Linked DNA regions of Homo sapiens: regions 2, 3 and 4 are each linked to region 1. Evidence: promoter capture Hi-C in human tissues and cell types (Jung and others, 2019). All regions are on one chromosome and are shown on one strand. The core of a region is centred on a gene start or on the middle of the fragment in contact, and the rest is flanking DNA. Distances in the headings are between cores, read along the strand shown. Region 1 holds the start of GDPD1 (glycerophosphodiester phosphodiesterase domain containing 1). Region 2 has its middle 61 kb from the start of MIR4729. Region 3 holds the start of MIR4729 (microRNA 4729). Region 4 overlaps YPEL2 (yippee like 2).

Region 1 (3,619 bases), core at 540-3,039:
GGGAGGAGGAGCTTGCAGTGAGCCGAGATCGCGCCACTGCACTTCAGCCTGGGTGACAGACCGAGACTCCATCTCAAAACAAACAAACAAAAAAACAAACAAACAAAAACACAAAAAGAAAAAAGAAAATTGCTTCTGTGACAGCAACTTGAATACTAAAAGTCGGTCCCTGGTTCCAATGGTTGAAGGCACCTTAGTAGTTAAATGTCATCCTACAGTTTAACCAGGTAGCTATTAAAACAGATAACCCAAATAAACAATAACAAGGCATTTGGCTGACCACCCTTTAAAACCTCTGAGGCTTTTCATGAGTGGGAAGGCTAGAATACTATTGAAGTCACTCATTAGAACTATGCTTAACTAATAAAATTATATAGAAGAATGATAATGTACTTCCGTATTTATATTTCAAAACCTTTTTCCTTGGCCAATACTTGTTAGTAAAGTGATTATGGTACTACACCAAGTTTTAGACTGTAAACTCCTAGAAATTATCATTTCAAGTGTGTATTAAATTTCAAGCAAATTTTAAACCGGTTTAAGATTCAGCCTTAAAGAACAGTTAAAATTGATTGAAAATAATCCAATTTCACCGCACTTTATACATCATAGTTGAAATGCAATGAAGACACATTATTACACAATAATGAAGAAGCAAAGATTTGGCCTGTTATCTGGGAAATTAGAGGGTGGACTACCTGGGCTCCTTTTAGCAAAACACTTTTCCAAAAGAAACTTATTTTTGTTTTCTTTAAACAATACTGTCCTGTCCTAAACGAAATCATTTTTAGTCTGTTGAAAATCCACGTGTCTTTGCGTGTTTATTTATTTATTTATTTATTTATTTATTTATTGCAGTGTTCAAAAAAAAAAAAAAAAAGATGCAAGGTTTCCAGCCCTGAGGACCAGGACGCTGTAGCTCCTGTCTCAGTTCAGCCCTAGCTCTAATTGTGACCTTGGGAAATGTCCCTGGCTCGGGGGACTCGGTTTCCCTCTCTTCTCAATTATGAGTGCTCGGAACGTGGGGGTGGGACGGGCCCCCAGCACCGCAGACAAGGGGTTACAGCTCGTCCAGCTTCATGCAAATCCCCAGCCCTCCTCGTCGCCTCGGCTCTTCCCATCCACTCAGCCACTAGCTCGCTCGGAGCAGTGTGCTCCCGGTGCCCCCCGCGGGGTACCCTCGGTTCTGCACGGCGCTCCCCCTTTGTGTCTTGCTGCTAGGAAGGGACCTTGCGATCATCCTTCCATCCGCCGAGAAACGCTCCACCTACCCTTCATTCTCGACCGTGTCTTTCCCGTTTCAGAGAACCCCTCACACTGCTGCCCTCGAGAGACCCCCGCCGTGGCTCTGACCGGGAATCCCTCTCCTTCCCTCCCCTCAGGAGACCTTCCCTTCACACAGCCTTCACCTCCGGAAGAGCCCTCAATTCACACAACCCCATTCTTCCTCAAACTCTCAGGGATTGGCACCCGGCTGCCTTTTGCGGAGCCGCAAAGGACCCTCAGCCTCCCCCACCTCCGTCATCGGGTTCTGGGGACCCCTCTCACCTCCGCGGTGAGAGATGTGTTTACTGAGGAATCGCTGCTTCTTTCTCTGGTGCAGCAAGGTCGGGTATTTAAGCAACAAGAATGAGGTCACCAAGTATCCTCCTAGCGTAGAGAGAAGGTAAAAAGCCGCAGTGGACGACATCTCAGTCACCGTGTGGGAAGTCTCCCACCTCCGGGCCCTCTGAACTCCGCTGCGGCAGTAGCAACGACGGCGGCGGCGGCGGCTGCTCGAGGTCGGCTCGCCCCCAGCCGGTGCCACTGGTGCAGCGCACTTGTCGGTGCCGGCCTACTGCGCACGCGCAGCTGGACCCCAGCGCCCCAGCAACAAAGAGGCTCCGACGCGCAGGCGCTCTCCGGCTCCCGTGTAGGAACCTGCAGAGATCCTGGACTGAGCGTTTGTCACCTAGCTCTGTGGACGGACCCTCATGAAGAGAAAGCTTGCAAACCTGCCAGTGTGTTGGCCATCACTCAAGCAGAAAAGACTATTCACGGGCAGCCTTTCCTAATTGGAAAATCCACATCAAAAAGGAAAGATTCCAGGGCGCGTCTTATCCCTTGCTCTAGAAAATGCAAATAATTTGTACCTATGGAGGCGATAAAGCTTGCTAAAACACTAAATAAACTCCTCCGTTTATCTAGCCTAGAGAGAATTTCCCCTATGGTCGCATATACTAGAAAAGGTACTGGTTTATCAGTCAAATATCTGAGAGATCGGCCCCTGTCCTCCCTCATTTCATTGTGAAAGTGCAATCCTCATTCTTTGTACACAATAGGCACTGTAGAAGTATTTGTTGACTTACAAGTCCGTATAAAATAAGGAAACTTTGTTAAGGTTATAAGGTATTACCTAAAAGTCCTAGAAAGACAGATAACTAAGTTCCAGAAGGCCCTACTAGTTTTCCTTTTACCCGACAAATTACAAACTGCTAACACACGAAAAGCCACACACTTCAATGCAAAAGAAATAAATCACCCAGGACTGAGGGAGAAATTTTACGGAGAAGACCATATCTCCCACAGGACTAGAAAAGCAGAGTGAATATTTAAAATCCTGATTCAGCCGGGCGCGGTGGCCCACGCCTGTAATCCCAGCACTTAGGGAGGCCGGGAAGGAAGGGTGGATCGCTTGAGCCCGGGAGTTCGAGACCAGCCTGGGCAACATGGCGAAACCCCATCTCTACAAAAAATAAAACAAAATAAGCCCGGCGTGGTGGCGTGCACCTGTAGTCACGCTACTTGGGAGGCTGAAGTGGGAGTATTGCTTGAGCCTGGAAAATCGAGGCTGCAGTGAGCTATGACTGCACCACTGCACCCCAGCCTGGGCGACAGAGCAAGACCCTATCTCAACTATAAAAAGAAAATTAGAAGAAAATAGGGGGTGGCTGGGCACGGTGGCTCAAGCCTGTAATCCCAGCACTTTGGGAGGCTGAGGCGGGCAGATCATTTGAAGTCAGGAGCCTGGCCAACATGGCGAAATTCCATCTCTACTAAAAATACAAAAATTTGCCAGGGGTGGTGGCGTGTGCCTGTGATCCCAGCTACTCAGGAGGCCGAGGCAGGAGAATCTCTTGGACCCGGGAGGCAGAGGTTGCAATGAGCCGAGAAGGCGCCACTGCACTCCAGCCTGGGTGACAGAGCGAGACTCCGTCTCAAAAAAAAAAAAAAAAAAAAAAAAAAAAAAAAAAAAAAAAATTCCTTTAGTCGAGGTTGAAGTGAGCCTTGATGGTGCCACTGCACTCCAGCCTGGGCAACAGAGCAACATTCTGAGGAAACTTACAGGTTAAAAAATCATGTGTTCTGTTTAGGGCTGTTAAACTATTTCCTGTAGATCAACTGACGCACATAGTTCTATTTTTCAAAATATCACCTGATGACTATGGAAGCGTCTAGAATAAACCACTGTGGCATAAAAATTATTTTGAGGCTGGGCATGGTGGCTCACGCCTGTAATCCCAGCACTTTGGGAGGCTGAGACAGGCAGATCACCTGAGGTCGGGAGTTCGAGACTAGCCTGGCCATCATGGTGAAACCCCGTATCTACTAAAAATACAAAAATAAGCCAGGCATAGTG
Region 2 (3,619 bases), core at 310-2,809, 210 kb before region 1:
CGTGGAAAACTTGAAGCTGCCAGGAGAGAGGGGTTCCAACATGTGGTGGCTAAAGAATGAATCCAACTCAAAGGAAGCAGAGCCAAGAAATGGATCCATGCTGTTTGAATCTTGGATCAAATTGTGCCTGGATCTCCAGTGAGACAATAAATTCCTGTATTACTCAAGCCTATTTGAGATTGTTTTCTTTCACTTGAAACATTAAACTTTTAAATTGATACACCCTAGTTAAATTATAAACTGTGTGACAGCAGGGACTGTGTCTCTCTCTTTTTTTTCTTTCTTTTTTTTTTGTTTTGAAACAGAGTTTCACTACCGTCACCCAGGCTGGAGTGCAGTGGTGTGATCTTGGCTTACTGCAACCTCCGCCTCCTGGGTTCAAGTGATTCTTGTGCCTCGGCCTCCCAAGTAGCTGGGACCACAGGTGTCTGCCACCATGCCTGGCTAATTTTTTGTATTTTTGGTAGAGATGGGGTTTCACCATGTTGGCTAGGCTGGTCTCAAACTCCTGACCTCAAATGACCAACCAACTTGGCCTCCCAACATGCTGGGATTACAGGCGTGAGCCATTGCGCCCGGCCCAAGACTGTTTCTCTTGATCACTTATGTGTCCCCTGGCACGTGGTAAGGATTCAATAAATAACTTTTGAATGGATGCATTTTAGCTGCAAGGAACACCCATAAACTCTCTTTTACTCAGCTGACAGCTAAGGAATCTGGTGTTATATAAGAAAGTGATGATGTGGATCTATAAGTTGGACCTTACCCCAACACTGGGATTTTTCTAATCACAGGAAATCTTCCAGTAAATATGTTGGGGTCTTTGAGGAGGCCCCAAAATAGCAGTCTGCTCCCTTCTCTGTGAATTTTGAATTGAATCAGAAGATAGCAGCAAGCTAGATGAGGACCAAAAATAACCTTTTCTACTGATAAAGCTGATATTAGAGAACGTGGCTTATATCATCAGACAATCGAGCTTCCCGATACTCAACTTCAGAGTTAGGCAGACTTGGCGGCTCGATGACAGGCAGCTGAGCTGGAATGGGCCTACTCTTCCCACCCCACGGGAGCGAAGCTTGCTCCCAAGAAGAAAAGAGAGGATGATATAAGGCACAGTTCCTCCTTCCAAACTCACCAGTCATATTAAACCACTCCTCCTTCTCAGGGAAGAGGGGGCGGGTGGAGAGAAGCAAGGAGTGTTTGGACTCCTTTCAGAAGAAAGAAAACATCAGGAGTGGAAAGACCCAGTCTCCCTCACACACACACGTGTGATTTGGTCAGGTCATTGATTCTACTTTGTTTTCAATCAAAATGGGTGATATTTCCAAGTGGTGGGATACGTTTGCTGTCTAAAATATAGAATAGCTCACATAGAATAGCTCCATAGAATAACTCACACATCACAATATCAAGCTCCCCAAGGAGTTAGAGATCTTCATTTAAAATTATGCAAAATTCAAAAGAAGAAACAAGAATTCACGACGAAATTACACAATCAGGGGCACTAGGTGGCAATAAGCCTTTTGCTCTCTCACCATGCCCATCAAAGGCATTTCAAGAGCACTGAAAGCTCACACTCTTCCCACGCCGACTGTCAGTTTCTTTCTGGATGATCTCAGAGCCACACAGAGCATTCTTAGTCACTGGGAGAACAGAACCAAAGCTTAACTCCTTGGTGGCACCAGGGGAAATGGCACTTCAAGTTGGATTCCAGGAAATCCAGGGAAACACTTGACATAGGAAGTCTGCGACCACATTCCCAGTTTCCCCAGTGTCAAGGCTGGGGCCATGAGCATTGTTCAAAATACTCAGGCCTGCATTGTGTCTGTCTGCCACATGCTTTTGGTTTTACTCACCAGGGCACTTTTTCCTGTTTCTGTTTTTTGGAATTTTTTGGTTTTGCTTTTTAAGGTAAACATGTACCATCTAGGCTTCAAGAAACTTCCTTGAATAAACATCGTTTGTCGATTTGAAGTTTGATACACAAACTACCAGCTGAATTGGACAATCATAACCCCCCAAATGAGCCAAAATACATTTAAAATTCAACATGGATTTTCCTAAAACTGGTATTGGCTGTTTAATGTGACTGAGCCCGGTGAGAAACAGGATGCCCTGAACTCAGCAGAGATCCCCTCTGTTCTTGCTGCCAAGATAAAGTTTTGCTCTAATCTTTTTTTTTTTTTTTTTGATACGGAGTCTTGCTCTGTTGCCCAGGCTGGAGTGCAGTGGCACGATCTCAGCTCACTGCAACATCCGCCTCCCGGGTTCATGCCATTCTCCTGCCTCAGCCTCCCGAGCAGCTGGGACTACAGGCGCCCACCACCACGCCCAGCTAATTTTTTGTATTTTTAGTAGAGACGGGGTTTCTCCATGTTAGCCAGGATGGTCTCGATCTCCTGACCTCGTGATCCACCCGCCTCAGCCTCCCAAAGTCCTGGGATTACAGGCGTGAGCCACCACGCCCAGCCTGCTCTAATCTTAAGTAGCTTGCTGGTGGACTATTTGCTGGAGGTCACTAAGTAGACTTTGCTGGCCAGTCTTGGGAGAGAACCCAGGCTGACAAAGGAAACCTCGAACACAGCAAGATTGAGACAATATGTTCCCATCCTCTCTTCTCAAATGTAAAGCTATTTTCTCATCTATTACCTGCCCCTATTTTTACCATGAGAAGCTCTCCAATGCCACTTTAGCTATCGATAATTGGCAGTGAGTTTTGCAATTAACAGCTGCCCAGAATCAATTCCAAGGATGCGCAACTGAAACCACTTTTAAAAAGGCAGAGTTGGGGATTACTCAGCTGCCTACCTGACCTCCAATCCTTTTTCTTACCCCATACAAACCATTTGCTGGAAGAATCTGAAACTTGAACCACGTACCTAAATGCCCAGTTCTGGGTATGGGGTAGATATTTGAGAAATACTTCGATTGATTGATGTGTGCCCGGGGGAAGGGTACGGGCAGATCCACAAGGAGTTGCTGTGTAATTCATAGTGAGGAGTGGCTCTCCTGCTGACTCAAGACTCCTTTCTTATTTCAGGCCAAAGACTCCAGGGACAGATTTGGGTTAGAAACCTGGCCTCAGGGAAAAGCAAATGAAGCCTGTTCATTCCCCAGAAGAGAAGCAATAGAGAACTGCTCACCGTGATGGGCGCACCTCAGCTTTGCTAATTTATCGTCCTCATGAACCGCACCAGCAAGGGGCCTTCTATGAGGCCGAACTTCCCACTCACCCGAGCCTGTTGGAGACATGACCCAAGGCTTTGGGGGCTTTCTCGCAGCTTCTGCTTAAATGGAGGCAAGGAGGGAGCCAGTCCTTTCACCATGACCTCTAAATGACTCCAGTGCTGAAGGCTGTGGGGCCTTCGATCACTCGAAAACTAGGAGACATATATTTTTAGACACATGCTGTCATCTGGGCAGCCTTAAGTAGATGTTTTCTCTGTCTTTCCTCAGATCTAGTGGGTTTGCAAGAAACCCTCCCAGGGCAGCAGCCTTAGAGGAAGTGCCTGCTAATGCAAGAAGGAGGGCAAGGGGGACAGCAAGCTGGAGCCTGGAGCTGCTCATGCGCTTGGAATCCTCGGCGGGCGCAGGCGGGGATTTACGGACCTGCCTTTTC
Region 3 (3,619 bases), core at 723-3,222, 150 kb before region 1:
CTGCTCAGAATGGACTCCTCTTGTCTTCGTCTTCTTGTCCACTTAGTAAATGCTTCTAAACACTCATCTTAGTAAACATTCATCCTGCTCTTTACCCTCATAACATCTGGAACAATCACTTACAGTGAAACAATGACTGTGTTTCACTACATTTTATCACTGTTTATCTATTTGCCTTCCCCATTAGATCATAAGCTACTTAAGGGCAAGAATTCCAGGCAAGTGCACGGTTCACGCCTGCAATCCCAGCACTTTGGCAGGCCAAGGCGGGCTGATCACTTGAGCCCAGGAATTTTAGACCACCCTGGGCAATATGGAGAAACCTCATCTCTACAAAAAATAGAAAAATTAGCCGGACATGGTGGCGCATGTCTGTAGTCCCAGCTACTCAGGAGACTAAGGTGAAAAGATCATCTGAGCCTGGGAAGTTGTGGCTGCAGTGAGTTGTGATCATGCCTCTGTACTCTAGCCTGGGCAACAGAGTGAGACTCTGTCTCAAAAAAAAAAGAGAATTTCATCCATTTCTGTATTTGTATCCATTTCTGTATCCCCAGTGCTTCATACAGTAGGATTTAATATATGCAGGGTGATGAGGGAGGTTAAGTGACTTGCTCAATGCCACACTGAAAATTTAGCACAAAGCCAGGTCTGGAGCAGAGGTGGCTTGACCCTCATTCAAGGCTTTTCAAATGGTGCCACAGACTCTCCTCAGCAGGGCCCCACACTGTCTTCCCATTACAGTGATGACACTGTAGGAAACTATGTGCCCTATCTGGCTTGATCACCTTGTAACCTATGGTGGGAACCTGTGGGTGCTAGACGGCTGGGGCTGAAGTCTGGCCTATGGAATAGAATTCTCACCAGGGTGTCAATTAAGACCTTGTCAATTAGCACAGTGCCTCAACCCCTACACTCTTCATACAAGCCACCATGCTGGTTTGAGATTCCTCTTGAAATCACAGAAACCTATTTCTCCAACACCCATTTCACAACAGTCATTCTAATCATCTTACCTAGGGTTAAGTAAACCAGTCCAAGGGCCTAATTGGGCCTTTCACCTGTTTTGCAAATAAAGTTTTTCTGGAAAACATCCATGCTCATTTGTTTATATATTCTCTGTGGCTGCAGATTTGAGTGGAGACCCTATGTCCAGCAAAGCGTAAAATACTATCTGGCCTTTATAGAAAAAGTTTTGCAGACCTTTGGATCTAGCCCAAAAAACAGGGAATCAAGACTGCAAACAGCCCCTCCCTTCTACCAAGGGACTGGCTGCCCCTACTCTGGAAGTTAGTGAACCAACTGGCTTTTGAATGAAGTCATTTCTTTTTTTAGCCCTGGTTACAGGCCTGGGATCCAGGAGGAGATTTTGCCTGTCAGAGGCACACAGGGACCTGCAACACCTAGCACATGGCCTGGCACATAATGGCACTCAATTAATGTTTACTGAATAAATAAACAAAGACATGAGAAATCAGCCAGGCTGAGCCTCGAACAAAAGTCCATACTCCTCCTGTCAGTTTCAAGGTGGCCAGTCACACAGGTACCTGGCAGCAGCCGGGTGACCTAGATTTGTCAGACCTTATCTTATTGGCTTTCCTTTCTCGTGTATTTACCCAGCACCTGCCCCCACGATGCTCAGAGCAGGTTGGCCTCTTGTTTTTATAGAGAAAGAGATGGACAGGGAGGAACTCTCCTCCCACACAGACACACTTTGTGTTTTTTCTTTTTTTCTCCCGCTGCGGGAAGAATCAAGAAATATGGGGGCTTCGAGCTTCAAAAAGCTCCATGAAGTCTAGTTTCACTGGCTTCCTCTCTCCTCAGGCTTCCTAGGTGAATGTTTCTGGCATGAACCTTAACGGCCCTCTCAGAGTTGTACCTGTCGTTTGGAACATTTGGCATCTGAAGGGGAAAGGCCAGCTGTGGATAAAGCTGGCAGCTTTCAGAAGGTCAGGAATGTAAACAAAGCAGCCCCCACCCAGTGGGGAGAGGCCTGGTCCTGAGAATACAGACATTCCTCCAAAGATGCATCAGAGAACAAGGGGCTGCCCGACTCGGCTGGGCTAGCTCAGGCCGACTCTGCAGGGGAGGACAGGGACCATCAGGGAAACAAAAGGCACTTCAGCCTCTCATGAAAATTAGGCAAACTGAATGGAAAGCACTATGGAAATGCTGGTTTTTCAGCTGCCCCGGATAACCTTAGGGGCCAGGCTCAGGAAGGAGATCCTTGTTGCTGCTGCCACCAACCGCTTTTTCAGGTGCTGGGTCTTCCAGGAACCAAAGGGTACCGTGTGACAGGCTCAGTGAAGGCAAAGCTTGCATCTGTTTGCCACTGTAATTCCCAGGGTCTAACACGTAAGAGGAGCTCACACAATGTGGAATAAATGACAGGGCCCTCTGCAGGAGGGTTTGCTCAGGGATTTTTTGTTTTGGTGAGGAAACACTTTTCTGTTTCCTCATTTATCTGCTGGGACGCTAAGGTCACAGTTAGCTTCCCAACAGATAAATGAGGAAACAGAAAATTGCTCTTGGTGGAGCCAACCCTAACAAGAAGGAAAAGGAGCTCCTGGGCCCCCAAAGATAGAGAATTTTCCTTTTGATGATCATAATTTACCCCTTCAAAGACCCAAAGGTGTCAGGGGCTAAAGGGGAGGGGAGAACTAGTGCCACCTGCTCCACCTCTTGACATCACTGTAGTCTGGAGGGGAGGGAGTTTATGGACTGATTAGATGTTGTTGTTTCTAGCGGCAGCTGGCAGAGCCATCTCCTCCTCTCTTCCTCTCCCCCTCCTCCTCCAACTCACTGTCCAGCCACCAGCAATAAGCCAGGGAGAGGAGGGAAACAGCTAAAGCTCCCCTTGGCTGGGCAGCCCTTACCCCAGAGATAATACTCTGGGTCACCAGGTCAAACCCTCCTCTCAGCAGCTTTGCTGAGTGCTTTGGAAACAAAGGTTATCAGAGATTCTCTTTTGGTTTTGTTCTTTCAAGATAAAGAAAGTGGTTTCTTTCAAAAGATTCCCCCCCACCCGAAGTGTCACAGAAGGAATCAAACTGACAAGCAACTCTCAGCTCCAGCTTCACTCTCCAGGCCAGGGACTTCTCTTCCAGCCGCCTGGGCTGCTGTGTCACAGCCAACTGAGGTCCTCGGGTGGGTCAGAGGCACAGTAACCACCTGACAGACTAAAAGGGAAGGAGGCAGGGACAGGCTTTTCCATTTACATTCTAGAGAGGCTTCGCTGCTGCCTGCAGGTAAGGCCCCAGAAAGCTGTGGTGGAAGGTGCTGCTGCTATTTCATCACCTCCTGAGACCTGCTGGTCCCCCTGGGATAAGGAACAAGCGATTCCATGAGGAGAGGCCTCAAAAGACGACAGATGACAACTGTAGGGCTCAAGGGCAACTGCTGAGACTCTCCAAAAACAAGGGCAACAAGCAAGAGTGCCAGGCTTGTTGGGGTGCCAGGCCCTAGTTCTGTCACTTTCCATTTGGTTTTCTTTAGTGACTATTCATAGAATAACACTAGCTTCCAACATTTATTGAGCACTTATCACGTGCCAGGCCCTGTGGTAAGAACTTCACATCAATAACCTCATTTAATTTCCACAAAAATCCTATCAGGTATCTAA
Region 4 (3,619 bases), core at 602-3,101, 130 kb before region 1:
GACTGGTCTTGAACTCCTGACATCAGGTGATCAACCCACCTCAGCCTCCCAAAGTGCTGGCATTACAGGTGTGAACCACCGCACCTGGCCCTTCCACCTTTCTAATACTCCTGTTCCATTTCAGGATAGACAGCACATCCAGGAAAGGAAGGGGTGGTGAGTTAGAGTAAGGAAATAGGAAAGACAGGCAGGGGAAAACAAGCAGTAGGCTTCCCCCAGGCCAAATGCTGCTAGAGTCCACAGCCTTAGCTGCCCGCTGGGGAGCACAAAGAGCACCAGACCCATCCGTCTTACACAAACACAGAGGGGAGAAAAAGAAACAATGACCCTGGCTGCCAGGCTGAGTTTAGAGAGCAGATACAGAGTCTGTTTTCTTATACATGCAGACAGCTTCTAAATTATACATTTCCCCAGAGTAGAATTATTTCTTCTCTCACTTCTCCTCTGAAGGAAACCCCCAAAAAAAGTTTACAGGTAGAAGTTTCTGGTTATGTTCAGCTTCAAATCTGAATCCCGAAACTTATTCAAAGCTACCTTCTGTGAAATAAGCATTTCTTGTTTGTATTAAATGTGAGTGTGTCACATACAAACACACACATGCACATTCCATCCTCACCACAGCTCTGAACCTAAAAAGACAAGAGAAAAATCTACCATATAAGCAATGGCCCAGGCTGTCTGGTGCTAGAAAGGCTCTGGAAGGCCTAGACAAGAAGCCTTACATTTTGCTGTGGCAGGGTCACTCTGCTCCCCATTGCTCTTAAATATGAATAAACAGGCATCCTAGAGAGGGACTCCTTTCCTAAGAAGAAAAAAGGAAAAGCCAGATGCGGTGGCTCACACCTATAATCCTAGCACTTTGAAACAGGAGGATTGCTTGAGCCCAAGAGTTCGAGACCAGCTTGGACAACACGGCAAGACCTCAACTCTACAAAAAATTCAAACTTAGCCAGGCATGGTGGCACGCGCCTGTGATCCCAGCTACTTGAGAGGCTGAGGCCAGAGGATTACTTGAGCCCAGGAGGTTGAGACTGCAGTGCACAGTGTTCACTCCAACTGCATTCCAGCCTGGGTGACAGAGCATTAAAAAAAAAGAAAAGAAAAAGGGAAGAAAAAGCGGCTTGCTGAAATATGAATCTTGTTCAACTGGTACAGGACAAACTAGAAGAAATGAGAGGAGGTAAGTAGAAAGCAAGGAGAAGCAGGATCAAGAAAGGCCTGTAGGGCCAGGCACAGTGGCTCATGCCCGTAATCCCAGCACTTTGGGAGGCTGAGGCGGGCGGATCACGAGGTCAAGAGATTGAGACCATCCTGGCCAATATGGTGAAACCCCGTCTCTACCAAAAATACAAAAATTAGCCGGGCATGGTGGCGTGTGCCTGTAGTCCCAGCTACTCAGGAGACTGAGGCAGGAGAATCGCCTGAACCTGCGAGGTGGAGGTTGCAGTGAGCCGAGATCGTGCCACTGCACTCCAGTCTGGTGACAGTGCGAGATTCTGTCTCAAAACAAAACAAAACAAAACAAAAGGCCAGCCTGTGGGGGCCGGGGAAGGTGGTCACGCCTGTAATCCAGACACTTTGGGAGGCCAAGGCAGATCACTTGAGGTCAGGAGTTTGAGACCAGCCTGGCCAACATGGTGAAACCCTGTTTCCACTAAAAATACAAAAATTAGCCAGGCATGGTAGCGCACGCCCGTAGTCCCAGCTGTAGTCCCAGCTACTCGAGAGGCTGAGGCAGGTGAATCACTTGAGCCTGGGAGGCGGAGGTTGCAGCCTGGACGACAGAGCGAGACTCCGTCTCAACAAAAAAAAAAAAAAAAAAAAGAAAAAAAAGGCCTGTGGGCTGAGAAAGGGGAGGGCAGGCTGCATGAGAGGAACAAGCTGAGAGATGGGGACCAAAAAATCAACATCTGCACTGTCTTCTTCCCTTTTAAGCAAAAATTTTAAAAGCTTCTTTGAGTCAATTCTTAGGAAAGAAAATTGATTTTTTTTTTTTTTTTTTTTTTTTTGAGACGGAGTCTCGCTCTGTCACCCAGGCTGGAGTGCAGTGGCGCCATCTCGGCTCACTGCAAGCTCTGCCTCCCGGGTTCACGCCATTCTCCTGCCTCAGCCTCCCGAGTAGCTGGGACTACAGGCGCCCGCCACTACGCCCGGCTAACTTTTTGTATTTTTAGTAGAGACGGGGTTTCACCGTGGTCTCGATCTCCTGACCTCATGATCCGCCCACCTCGGCCTCCCAAAGTGCTGGGATTACAGGCGTGAGCCACTGCGCCCAGCCAAAATTGATTTTTTTTTAAAGGAAGAAATTAAGAGTATGGAGCTTAACTCATCATTCTAATTTTTGAACTTTAGCCCCTGTTAATGGGGCAACAGGGTCCATGGGGCTTCATGAGTCCAACTCATAGAACATAACTGTGGAGTTCCAAATTGATTTCCAACAGTCATCAAATGAGCTTAATATTTAAAAGCCTCAGGGCACATGTGCAAATTAAACACCATTTTAAGTGAACTAATAATCCATCACAGTGGAAATTAAAGGAAGATTTGCCGCCACCCCTAGCTAGCTTTCACTGAGCAGCACAGAAAGAAAATATGTGAGATATTATGATTAAAAACAAAGATCTTCGATACACCACCTCGAGAGACAAATGCACAGGGAGCACATGCCAACCTGGCCAGCCCCCACCCCATGCCGCCTCCCCGGCCAACAGGCCTTCCCCAAAAGGGAGTAACTGCCGCTGGAACTCAAAACAGAACCTTCTGAGTGCCACCAGGATGGAGGGGCGGGAGATGGGACGCTCTTGTTAAGCCACAAAGGAACGTGAGGAATGATGTGGAAGCAAGGCTGGACCACCACATGCCGAGCCACGGAAACTGACCTGAGAAGTGGGACTCTCTACAGGAAGGAATTCCTCCAGACATGAGACAAGGCTGGCCCCAAGGCATGCCTCTGTGTTGTTGTTTCCATGGGGTGTCTGAGAGGAGGTGAAGACTGGAAAAGAAGTGGGCTCTGGACTCACACAAACCAGTTCTGCTCCTTTCTAGCTGCGTGACTTCTGGCAAGTTACGAAACCACTCTGACCCTCAGCTTCCCTATCTCTAATAAGACCAACCTCCACAGGGGTTCTAGGTGTTAAGTGAGATGATCTCAGTGCTTACACAGAGCTGGCGCACAATACACACCAAAATTTCATCTATTATTTTTAATGGCCAATGGGGGAGAAAAACAGATGCTGCTGCTTAAAAAAAAAGAAAGAAAAAGAAAAAGGAGAAGGCCTGAGAGTTCAGACAGACATGGAGTTTGGGGTCCTTTGGGAACATCCTATTTTTCCTCTTTCCTATTTATGTTGAACCTGATGCCTGTGTGTAGCCAAATTCCAGCCTGCCCCTTCCATTAGGATCCTTTAACTTGTCTTCAAGCATCTCTTTGAGATGATACCACTGGGACATCTCCCCAAATCTAGAATTCTCTTTTCAAGATGAGACAAGGCGGCAATAATATTGGAGGAACCACAGGCATGCGTTAGTATTGAGGTCCTTCTAAGAGGTGCTTCCTCAGTGGCCATGCTCTCAACAGCCTGAAGGTAAGCATCTCTGACTTATACAGCCCTGGCAGGCC

Evidence for each region. Contacts are between HindIII fragments. The study calls those that stand out against the background at their distance.
Region 2: a fragment that was not itself captured here is called in contact with the fragment with the promoter of GDPD1 in region 1 in 4 of the 25 tissues and cell types used here (bladder, dorsolateral prefrontal cortex, lymphoblastoid cells and 1 more).
Region 3: a fragment that was not itself captured here is called in contact with the fragment with the promoter of GDPD1 in region 1 in 1 of the 25 tissues and cell types used here (hippocampus).
Region 4: a fragment that was not itself captured here is called in contact with the fragment with the promoter of GDPD1 in region 1 in 1 of the 25 tissues and cell types used here (small bowel).

Annotation. Positions count from the first base shown.
Region 1 is chr17:59,218,681-59,222,299 of GRCh38, reverse strand. GDPD1 (glycerophosphodiester phosphodiesterase domain containing 1) reads right to left here and starts at 1,789. Exons shown (of 10, transcript NM_182569.4): 1 at 1,549-1,789. The coding sequence starts at 1,690. RefSeq lists an enhancer at 1,213-1,763. The HindIII fragment of the contact is 11,394 bases long and covers 1-3,619 here.
Region 2 is chr17:59,425,689-59,429,307 of GRCh38, reverse strand. No RefSeq gene overlaps it. Among named protein-coding and RNA genes, the nearest start is that of MIR4729, 61 kb to the right of the region's middle. RefSeq lists a silencer at 1,465-1,594. The HindIII fragment of the contact is 4,924 bases long and covers 1-3,619 here.
Region 3 is chr17:59,364,980-59,368,598 of GRCh38, reverse strand. All of the region lies in intron 2 of YPEL2 (yippee like 2), which reads right to left. MIR4729 (microRNA 4729) reads right to left here and starts at 2,516; the gene lies at 2,445-2,516. RefSeq lists a silencer at 557-851 and enhancers at 1,408-2,177, 2,178-2,947. The HindIII fragment of the contact is 4,265 bases long and covers 1-3,619 here.
Region 4 is chr17:59,347,564-59,351,182 of GRCh38, reverse strand. The region is part of intron 1 of YPEL2 (yippee like 2); the gene reads right to left. Among named protein-coding and RNA genes, the nearest start is that of MIR4729, 17 kb to the left of the region's middle. The HindIII fragment of the contact is 6,533 bases long and covers 1-3,619 here.